Regions from separate parts of the Homo sapiens genome. Here region 1 is linked to region 2. The links are contacts of gene promoters, found by promoter capture Hi-C in blood cells and fetal thymus (Javierre and others, 2016). All regions are on one chromosome and are shown on one strand. The core of a region is centred on a gene start or on the middle of the fragment in contact, and the rest is flanking DNA. Distances in the headings are between cores, read along the strand shown.

What was found. The method cuts DNA at HindIII sites, captures the fragments that hold promoters and counts their contacts. A CHiCAGO score of 5 or more calls a contact.
Region 1: a contact is called between a fragment that was not itself captured here and the fragment with the promoter of SUPT16H in region 2, in 1 of 17 cell types (monocytes). The highest score is 5.5, in monocytes.

The regions. Positions count from the first base shown.
Region 1 is chr14:20,395,123-20,400,989 of GRCh38, reverse strand. TEP1 (telomerase associated protein 1) reads left to right here. Exons shown (of 55, transcript NM_007110.5): 9 at 1-6; 10 at 4,260-4,369; 11 at 5,041-5,131; 12 at 5,363-5,540. Among named protein-coding and RNA genes, the nearest start is that of TEP1, 15 kb to the left of the region's middle. RefSeq lists an enhancer at 1-361. The HindIII fragment of the contact is 1,267 bases long and covers 2,131-3,397 here.
Region 2 is chr14:21,380,471-21,385,983 of GRCh38, reverse strand. It overlaps SUPT16H (SPT16 homolog, facilitates chromatin remodeling subunit), which reads left to right and starts at 1,965. Exons shown (of 26, transcript NM_007192.4): 1 at 1,965-2,122. The coding sequence starts at 2,057. CHD8 (chromodomain helicase DNA binding protein 8) reads left to right here. Exons shown (of 38, transcript NM_001170629.2): 38 at 1-785. The coding sequence ends at 371. It overlaps LOC107984643 (a long non-coding RNA gene), which reads right to left and starts at 1,711. Exons shown (of 2, transcript XR_001750627.2): 1 at 1,271-1,711. The HindIII fragment of the contact is 3,293 bases long and covers 1,296-4,588 here.

The DNA.
Region 1 (5,867 bases), core at 1,515-4,014, 990 kb after region 2:
TCATTGGTAGAGTGACCTTGACCATCACATTCCCTCCTTCTCTTCCCCATTTATGCCTCCACATTTTAGATCCTCACTAGAAGATTTCTGTGGAATGATGAAGTTATTACTTTGCCTGGTTGTTGTATTTGATTTATAAGGTCTGCCATTGACTACACCAAAGTAAACAGTGGTACCTGCTTTGAGTAATGTTGGCATCATAGATCATTATACCAGATGTAGTTAGGTGATGTACAAGTTTTTATCAACATATGACAAAAGTACCTTCTCTCTCATTGTACTCATATCGATATCTCTGTAACTCATTCCAAAAAAGGTAGGACTGGCACATGGCATATTGGAATCTGTACAGAACCTCATATTGTATTTAGGACATGGAAGTTTTAGGTAATTTGCCCACATTGATACAGAAAAAAAAAAAGTCAAATAGAGGAGGATCAAGTTATCTTCAGTTTTCTCTTTCTCTGTTTTTTTTTTTTTTTTTTTTTTTTTGGTCTACTTTTACCTATAGCAGGCTCTTTCTTTCGTTTTTTACTTTATAAAATTATTACTTTTCTTTTTAAATTTTAGAGACAAGGTCTTTGTAATGTTGCCCAGGCTGGTCTCAAACTCATGGCCTCAAGCATTTCTCCTACCTTGGCCTCCCAAAGTGCTGGAATTATAGGCATGAGCCACTGCACACACACACACACGCACCCACACACAAACACACATACACACACACACCTGCCCCCAGTTGACAGCCTCTTCTTCCCTGATGGTTGAAACCACTTGGGGTGGAGTAGAATAAAGGGGCCTGGATAGAAGCCGGTATATGTAGATAATTCTTTTTTTTTTTTTTTTTTTTTTTTTGAGACGGAGTTTTGCTCTTTTTGCCCAGGCCGGAATGCAATGGCGCAATCTTGGCTCACTGCAACTTCTGCCTCCTGCCTCAGTCTCCCGAGTAGCTGGGATTACAGGCGCATGCCACCATGCCCAGCTAATTTTGTATTTTTAGTAGAGACGGCGTTTCACCATATTGGCTGGTCTTGAACTCCTGACCTCCAGTAATCCACTCGCCTCGGCCTCCCAAAGTGCTGGGATTATAGGTGTGAGCCACCACGCCCAGCCATATGAAGATAATTCTATATGCACCCATCTCCACTTCCTCCCTCTGGTTGAGAACCACTGTCCCTGAAAATGTAAGGACATGTAAATTTATTCTTTTAATGTCATTTATCCTGGTTGAGGCAAATGCCCATAGTCTAATCCCGTGGTGGCTAGTGTTTCTTTTTTTTAATCATATACTACAAAAACAATTTTTAGGATACACCAGAATATATGTATATGTACTTTTTTTTTTTTTTTTTTTTTTTTTAAGAAACAGGGCCTCACTTTGTTGCCAAGGCTGGTCTCCAATTGCTGGGATTACAGATGTAAGCCACTGTGCCCAGCCAAAAATAAATATAAATAAATAAAAGGAAATATAAAAAAAGATATAAGTATAAAATATAAGATAAAATGTAATTGGATATACAGAACCCTTTTTGAAGACCACAGATCTCATTAATAACTCATTAACATTTTTTTGGAATGAAATTAGTGAATTTTGCAATCTTAAGGATAAATGTCCAGTTTATTTTCTAATATCACCAGTATGATATTGGACTTAATTTCTTACCGAAAATGATCTAGAAAACCTTTTATACATAGTAACAGTGGAAAAAACTTGAGTCGACAATGGATGCAATAGTTCATTTATAGTACATATACAACCTAATTGTTCCATACAGTTTGTGAATCAGAATTATGACTGGAGGCCAGGCACCATGGCTCACGCCTGTAATCCCAGCACTTTGGGAGGCTGGGGCGGGCAAATCACTTGAGCTCAGGAGTTTGAGACCAGCCTGAGCAACATGGTGAAACCCCGTCTCTAACCAAAAATAGAAAAATTAGCTGGGCATGGTGGTTGATGTCTGTGGTCCCAGCTGCTTGGGAGGTTGAGGCAGGAGGATTGCTTGAGCCTGGAAAGTGGAGGTTGCAGCGAGCCAAGATTGTGCCACTGAGTGACAGAGACAGACTCCATCTCAAAAATAAAAAAAAAAAGAATGATGACTGGAGAATCCCAAGACTTCCAGAGGGCTGAAAGCTTCCAGCTATAATTCAAATAAGACTTACATCCCCTTTACAAAGGGAGCAGCATTTACCTGATGAAGCTGCTGATGGTGTGGGCTGGTGCACAAGGCATGGTGACGGACTGACCGGCCTGGCCTCTAAAGTGGTTTGAATGCACCTCTGTCCAGGAAAAGAAAATCACACCTCCTATTTATGTTTACTTTTATCTAAAAGAAAAGAATTTTCCCAGTACTTACCATGCAGATTGAACCCACATAGTCACTGAATCCATATGATACAGTGTTATGTGTTACGTGTAATAGTTGAGGTTTTCTGAGCATCCACAATCTGAGGGCATTAATGTCACCCCTTCACTCTTTTTTTTTTTTAATTTTGGTTTCTATATAATTTGACTTATAGCAATTTATCTTTCAATTGTAGATGGATTTGGAATTATATTATTCAGTATTAACCAAATTAACTGTCTAAAATTGATATAAACCTTTTTTTTTTTTTTTTGGGCGGAGTCTCACTTTGATGCCCAGGCTGGAGTGCAATGGCGCGACCTCGGCTCACTTCAACCTCCGCCTCCCAGGTTCAAGTGATTCTCCTGCTTCAGCCTCCTGATTAGCTGAGATTACAGGCGACCACCACCACGCCCGGCTAATTTTTGTATTTTTAGTAGAGATGGGGTTTCACCGTGTTAGCGAGGATGGTCTTGATCTCCTGACCTCATGATCCGCCTGAGTCGGCCTTCCAAAGTGCTGGGATTACAGGCGTGAGCCACTGCACCCGGCCTAAAATTGATATAAACCTTAAAAATATTATTATTAAGAAACTATGGGCTGGGCATGGTGGCTCACGCCTGTAATCCCAGCAATTTGGGAGGCCGAGGCAGGCAGATCACTGTAGATCGGGAGTTTGAGACCAGCCTGGCCAACATGGTGAAACCCCGTCTCTACTAAAAATACAAAAATTAGCCAGGCATGGTGGTGAGCACTTGTAATCCCAGCTACTCGGAGGCTGAGGCAGGAGAATTGCTTGAATCCAGGAATCAGAGGTTGCAGTGAGCTGAGATTGCACCACCACACTCTAGCCTGGGTGACAGAGTGAGACTCCGTCTCAAAAAAAAAAGAAAAGAAACTATGGCTTGAAGATAATATTAATAACACAGGTACAAGGGAACAATAAGGAAGTGACAGAGGTCAGTGGTGAAATTCTATCTCCAGTGCAAATCTTTTTCACCTATATTTAAGCAAAAAAAGTAATGACTAATCAAATAGAAGAAATTGGGTGAGAAGCTTACAAATTATGAAGACTATTTCAAATATGGATTTACATACATTCGTCATTATAAATGGTGAACTTTTTTTTAATTTTTTTTTTGGAGACAGAGTCTTGCTTTGTCACCCAGGCTGCAGTGCAGTGGCGTGATCTCGGTTCACTGCAACCTTCGCATTTTGGTTTCAAGCGATTCTCCTGACTCAGCCTTTCGAGTGGCTGGGATTAGAGGCACCAGACACCACGCCTGGCTAATTTTTGTATTTTTGTAGAGACGGGGTTTCATAAATGGTGAACCTTCTTTTAAATGGATATTGTGCCTTGAAATATTAACTAATGAATGTGCTACATTATGTTAGTATATACTTCATAAATCAACTTACACTACGAAATTTCTCTTTTGGCCATCTAAAAAGTTTAGAAACCTTTGCTCTAGACTAGATAATACATTTTGCCAGTTGAACCCAATCTTAGGGCTAGAGCCAACAGATTAAGTGGTAACATAACAGCCATCCCATAAACAGTGTTGCATAAATTTTGTTCCAAACTTTGGGCCAACCCTGTTTTTAATCTTTCCAAGCCTTTAAAACATTTTGAGTAGGGTAGATTGTATGTGAATTCCTCACTTCCTCTATCTTGGACTTTCCACATGCCTGGTTTCTGAACTTCTTGCTCTGGTCTCTGACCTCTCTCTAATCATCCCTCATTTGCTTTTTTTTTTTGAGACAGTCTTGCTATGTTGCCCAGGCTGGACTCTAATTCCTGGGTTCTGGGCTCAAGTGATCCTTCTGTCTCAGCCTCCTTGGTAGCTGAGATTATAGGTGCATGCCACTGTGCCTGGCCTTCTCATTTGTTTTTCTCACTCTATGCCCCACATTCCACAGAAAATGGGAAGCTTCCCTTCATGGCCATGCTTCGGAACCTGTGCAACCTGCTGCGGGTTGGAATCAGTTCCCGCCACCATGAGCTCATTCTCCAGAGACTCCAGCATGCGGTATGTGTGAGGGGCTGGTAGCCATGGGGCCCAGCAACTAGATGTGCACGTGGAGAGGCCACTGCTGCTTTAGAGGCCAGGCTTTTTCAGGGGGCAGAGGCAGGTACGGCCCTCAAGCTGTTTCCATGTGGGCTGTAAGTAGATCTGGGAATACAGCTAGGTTGAGGGAGATAAGTTTTGGGGTTCAGTAAATCCTTTGAGAAGTTACAGTAGAGTATAAGAACTTTCATTTTAATTTTCTGAGCTCAGTGACTTACCAGGAAGAGACACTTGTGTGATGTAACTGATTTCAGAAGGAGTCTTTGTTTTTTATTTATAGAGATGGGGTTTTGCGATGTTGGCAAGGCTGGTCTCAAACTCTTGAGCCCAGGCAGTCCACCTGCCTAAGGCTCCCAAAGTGCTGGGATTACAGGCGTGAGCTACCACACCCTGCCCAGAGGGAGTCTTAAAAGAAACGGGGCTCCTTCTGTTACTTTCTCTTCTTTTGTTACCTTTTCTCACATCCTAAAATGATGACTTTTTTCTTTCTTCTTATTACCCCTTTTCTATATCTCTTGTCTAAGTTCATTTTGTCCTTCTGTACCTTCCCACAAAGCTAATAGAGTGGACCCCTGAAGCCCCCCATACTCCCGGCTCCTGTGCTCATGACCCCTCCCTCCTTTGCTTTCTAGAAGTCGGTGATCCACAGTCGGCAGTTTCCATTCAGATTTCTTAACGCCCATGATGCCATTGATGCCCTCGAGGCTCAACTCAGAAATCAAGGTATTCTCCCCTTTCTTCCAACTCCTCTTTGCCTCCCACATCTGACAATAAATGAAGCAGCAGCACCAATATTTTTAGCCTCTTGCTTTGCAGTCTCAGGGTGTATCGGGGTGGGGGGCAGAGGTCAGGCACTTGCCAGCCCCAAGGGTTGGGGCTCAGGTCACATTACTGGTAGGAAAAGATGAGGGAATAGAAGCTGCCTAACTCGGAAATTTACCTGTCATCATACAGCATTGCCCTTTCCTTCGAATATAACACTGATGAGGCGGATACTAACTAGAAATGAAAAGAACCGTCCCAGGCGGAGGTTTCTTTGCCACCTAAGCCGTCAGCAGCTTCGGATGGCAATGAGGATACCTGTGTTGTATGAGCAGCTCAAGAGGGAGAAGCTGAGAGTACACAAGGCCAGGTATGTATGCACTGTCTGGGAGCCAAGGGTGGGCAATCGGGGCTACCCTGGCACAGGTTGGAAGTCATCTGGGAATCCCAACTGTTTTTCTGTAAAGGTTTGCTTGTCAGTCATCGCAGTGGCTCAGAACTGCCTGGTTTCTTGCACAGCACACCTTGTCTTTAACATTGTCCTAAAGAGAGATCATGAAACAAAGTCTACTCCTGGACCTCCACTCTATTATCTGTGATTGTTTTATTGGTTTATGTAGATTCCTTTCTTTTAGTTATGCTGATGTATGGTGGTGTATGCTGGTGTCCTCTCTGCTTCTGCTCTGATTCATGGTTT
Region 2 (5,513 bases), core at 716-3,215:
CTTTGGGTCACAGCAGTGCCACTTCTGCATCTTTGCCTTTTATGCCATTTGTGATGGGTGGTGCACCATCATCCCCTCATGTAGACTCCAGCACCATGCTTCATCACCACCACCACCACCCCCACCCCCACCATCACCACCATCACCATCCAGGCTTGAGAGCCCCTGGCTACCCCTCTTCACCAGTGACTACCGCCTCTGGTACTACCTTGCGGTTGCCACCACTGCAACCTGAGGAGGATGACGATGAGGATGAAGAAGATGATGATGACTTATCTCAGGGCTATGATAGCTCAGAAAGGGACTTCTCACTCATTGATGATCCTATGATGCCAGCTAACTCAGACTCCAGTGAAGATGCTGATGACTGAAGCCCCAGCATGGGCCCCATTGCTTGGGCGGCTGCTGTATTTTCATTTACTCTGGCCCTTGGACTATGGAAACGTGGGAGGGGCAGGGGAGATGTGGGGAAGTCCAGGACTCCAGGAGGTGAAAAGGAAAAAAAAAAAAAAATGTACCTGATTGCTCCCAATTATGAGAGGATTGGGTGGGCAGGGGAACTCCTAAAATAATACATGACCACTTCCTCATTTCTGGGGAAGGAAAGGAGACTAGAGCAGCTGGTGTGCTCACCCCTCCCTAGTCACCTCCATTAACCACAGACTATGTAGCGCTGGCCCTAGCCTCTGGCAGAGCCTGTTCCTGGCCGAACTGTGGATACAGCTGGAGGGTCAGGAACTGTTACCTTCTTTCCCCTTGGCATTAATAAATTTAAGTTAATCCTTTTCCACTCTTCCTTTGTTCTATGTTTGCTCAAACCCAGTGTATTGATTTTGAGTTGTTAATGGTGGGTAATTTCAGCACCACTTTCCTTAAGTTCAATACTGTTTATACTAAATTGCCTTACAGCAGACAAGTCATCTGTACTCCTCTAAAGGGTATATACAAATGTAGACTGTCCAGCTGGCTAAAGGCAAGGGAATTATTTAAGGTAAATGGTAGGTAGGCAAACTTCTGGATTCAAACTCCAAGTTTTTAGAAGAGACAGGGAGCAAGAATGTCATCAGGAACCATTTATGTTTTGTTTCTAATTAACTGAAGTAACGGTTATTTGGGGGAAGCCATAGAATAGTGCCAGTTTTCATGAACTGCAGCAAGGGGACTGGCCGACTGGAAGGATGCTGCCGCGACTTGGGCTCAGGGGGTGGGGTTGTGGGAAGGAACTAAAAGTTTGTAGAGCCCCTCAAGTCATCTGTTTCCTCTGACTTACACCATCCCACTGCTCAGTTAAAGCTTGCGCATATTATTTTCCTTTCGAAAACTAGGTTCCTCCCCCAGCTTGGGTCGTAGTTTATCACGAGGCTGGGCTCCATTTCCCTGGTATGAGTCCTCTGTCCCGGCGGAGCGCTTGACCCAGCATCCTGGCACCGAGGATCCCTCGAGTCCTGGAGCAGTCAAGGGCTTTTGCATTCCCATCATTTCTAGGAGGGGCGCATGCCCAGTTACACTGTAGTAGTCCCACTTTTATCCCACGCTAGATCCCGCTCTTTCCGCTCCCCCTTCCTTTGCAGATGGGGTGGAGCTATAACACCCGCGCGCGGCAGCTCTTGTGGGCGGGGCAGGCGCCGCCTCCTTCGCTTCGTCTAGGGACTGCCGCCTCGGCAAAAAGTCTGAGGTCCTGGAAACCGCCGCTGGGCTGAGAGTTAATAAGGGCGGAGGCAGACCGTCACGTGACGACGTCGATTCGCGTGCGGCAGTGGCGAAGTTGACAAACCCCGCGAAAATCGACTCTTTGCATCGCACATTTTGTTGATTTTCCCTCGTTTTTCTTTCTCTCTTTCCCCCGTCCATCCGAAAGAGGGTTGGAAAAAAACAAAACAAACAAACAAACAAAAAAAAAACCTAACGCTGTTGGGACCCGGAAGCGGAAAGGGCATCTTTGAGGTCGATACTTCCGGGTCATTGGGAGAGTGCGGGATTCCTGGGCCGAGAGCGGGTGGCTGAGCCGGGACCTCGCGTGATTCTCGGAACCCGAGGAGAAGCGGCGTCCGGGGCTATGGCTGTGACTCTGGACAAAGACGCTTATTATCGGCGAGTGAAGAGACTGTACAGCAATTGGCGGGTGAGGAAGATCCTGTAATTTTTCCTAGGGAGCCCCCTTAGCCATCCCATAATAACCCTGTTTCTCGGCGCCCTTTTTTCTCTTTCGGTCAGGAATTCCCGGGTTCTGTGCCTCACCCTTTTCGTTGCTCCCGAATCATTCACCGGAGGCGGCCACGAACGCTGCCCCTTAACAGGGAATCCCCCGCATTCACCCTGTCCTGCGGCCATCACCATCTTCCCCGCGTGCCAGCCTTGGTCATGCATAGCAGCACCTCTCGCAGTCTCTTCCCGCCCTAGAAGAGGCAACATCCTTCCCTCCTACTCCGTGGTCACGTCTTGCTGCCCTCCCCTGCCGTGTTCTCACGCACTCGCTCTGTCCCTCCAGAACCACAATATTCCACCCCTGGTCCCGCCAGGATTATAACCGTCTTCGTAAAGGAGAGATGGAAGGGCAAGGAGGATGTCAATCGGGCTTTTAGCGTTTATCGTTTGCGGGGCTTTTGCTGGAGTTAAAAAAAGAAATACTGCTCACGCGCAACCGCCTCATGTTCTAGGCCCTGCTGTGGGTTACAGAGAGGGACCTAACGCTGAAAGCCTGCAGGCATTAGTAATAACAAAACAAAACAAAACGATGCCTAAAACCTTATTAGTTCCTTGGTAGCGTATCCGGGGCACGTGTTCATTAAAAGAGCTGTGGCAGTTCCCAGTTTTTTAAAGATTCGGCAGTTTTGCTGCTCTAAAAACGTCCACAGTTAAAACTTATTTTTATGATGTTAACTTACTAATTGAGCAAACATTTGGTTGCATTCTGTGATGCAGTCTGAGTTGGCTAGCTTAAGTCTTGCCCCTGAACCCTGTCATCAAGGGAAGATACAGCTAATAAAGATTTTTTTTTAACCTGAAAAACGTTTTGAGAAAAATGATCAGCTCTCATTTCAGCATTGTAAATTATCTTTCAAACTGGTCATCTACTAAAACCAAGCCATTAAAATTGGTCGTTTCCTTGCCATTCATATTAAAGCTGTCTGTGCATGTTTCATCTTTTGGGGCTAAATACATTAGATAATTGAAAATAAAATTGATTCTCTTGCATTTTATGAAAAGGAAAAATAAGAACTAAATGCTAGATGAATACTGAACATTTTATTTTTTTTAATTTTTTGATTAATTTCTACCAAATGATTTTTTGCAGCTTCTCTCAGTGTCATATTATTCAAACATAATCGATGTTAGAAAAACATTTTAAAACCTTGATACTTTCTAATGATCAGTAAGTACTAAAAATCCGAAGCCCTCTCTTGTACCCATAAACCCTGAAACTGTGAACCTTTGGTATGAAAATTGTTTCTAGTCCCAGTGATTCAGATTCATCAAATAATTTCATTCTCTCTATACCATTCATGAAAACTAATCTATAGCTCTCACTTCCTCTACATGACAAATTAACTGTGGCCTGAAGACAGGTTGGCAAACCTAATAAAACTGATAGTCTTTAAATCCATGAAAGTTATTTCCCACCCACCATTTTTTTTTGTATCTCAAAAATCTTTAAAGTTTATCTTGGCCCTCTTACTACCTTAATGACATCATCTTGGGAGAATGTTAGATATTGATAAGACACTGATGGTGTAAAGTTATGAGCCAAATCTATGTAAAAATGTACCAGTTAACAAAACCTGTGGCTATTATGAAAAACTTACTTGAATAAGACTTTCTGCTTTTGTGTTAATGTGTCCAGAACCCACCTGTAGAAGTTCTTTGTGTATGCAGTCTTTTCACCCTACAGTGCTTTCATTCTGATACACTTAATCAGAGATAGTAGTTTTCTGGGTTAAATCTAGTCGCTTATCCTCCTGGATATAGCAGAAAGATAGTGGGATATATAGGTGTGTTGTATAACTTTTCTCTTTTACACCTTTTCCTTTTTTTAATAAGAAAACTGGGATTGAAATAGAATAAGTTGAAGTTAATGGTAAAAATTCCAAACCTGGCTGGGCACCGTGACTCATGCCTGTACCCAGCACATGAGGCCAGGAGTTAAAGACCAGCCTGGGCAAGATGATGAGACCCCCGTCTCTACAAAAAAAAAAAAAAGGCAAATAAATTAACCAGGCATGGTGGTGTGTGCCTATAGTCCTAGCTACTTGTGATGCTGAGGCAGAAGGATCCCTTGAGCCCAGGAGTTTGAGGCTGCAGTGAGCTGTAATCGCATCACTGCACTCCAGCCTGGATGAGACCCCGTCTTTAAAAAATAAATTAAAAAAAAAAAAAATAAATCCCAAGCCTTTTGCTTTCAGCTTCCATCTTAAAAAAAAAAACTGTTATGACTAAAATTAACTAAAAAATGATTTGGGCTCCAAACCCACTTTTAATTTTAAATACTCTTGATTATAAGCCCTTAAAAGCTGTAGTGGTTGAACCTGGTAGTTCCAGCAGTCCAAATACAAGTACACAGGGTTGTAGAGAACTGATAGGCTACTAAGCTTTTTCTTCCCTTTTTTAAAAATAAGAATAGGAATTAACCTTACCTATCTGCAAGTTAATTTTCAGTTAGGTACATATTTTGAGGCTATTGCAAATAAAATATTTTTTAATTATAATTTTCATAACTTATGTCCTAAAAACAATTGTAGTTACCATGTACTTTTAACTGAATAGAAATTTCAAAAATATTAAGCCCTGTATCTAAGTAAATCGTGTCATTTTAGAGATGGGAAAATGGAGTCAGTCAAAAATCAACAGGAGACCTTAGAACGTACTATTGTTTTATGACTCCTGGAGGTTTGAGTCTAGATCCAGTCTTGCCTCTTATGTTTTAAGTGAGAGCTGCTAAGAGCAGAAAGGATTTGCAGCACCTTCTCTGTATTATTAGAATATCGCAGGTGGTAGTGGTGGTTCCTGGAAATGGGCTGCATGTTTCTTTGTCCTCTTATGCCTACTAGATCCTTCTTCAGGGATTGCCAGCCTTTTCATGATTACGATTATTTTTAACCAAGTAATATGATTAGTGCTGGTCATTGGGAGAAACAAAAGAGGTTATCTACCATCCCAGGGTTCCAGCTGCCTTGAGGGCTGAGTGGTACAATATCCAGGCATATCTGTATATCATTTGAGACCTACCTGTTGGGACATTCTGATATGAGTGGACCTTGACTTCATCTGCCTTTTTTCTTGAAGAATTCCATAAAATGTCAAAAATATTTGTTTTCAGAAGGAATACTCACATTCTTGTGAGCATACACCAACTGTCAGGATTGGGGTAGTGGAAGACTGACCCCAAAGAAATTTTATGCCTTTGAAGAAACTAATGAATTAAAGTGTCAGTGCTTCTCTTGAGTGGAGCTTTCTGGCTCTTTGCAGATTTTTATGGTGGCTTAGTTTCTTGTTCTGGGTTGTTCTATTAAGATTCA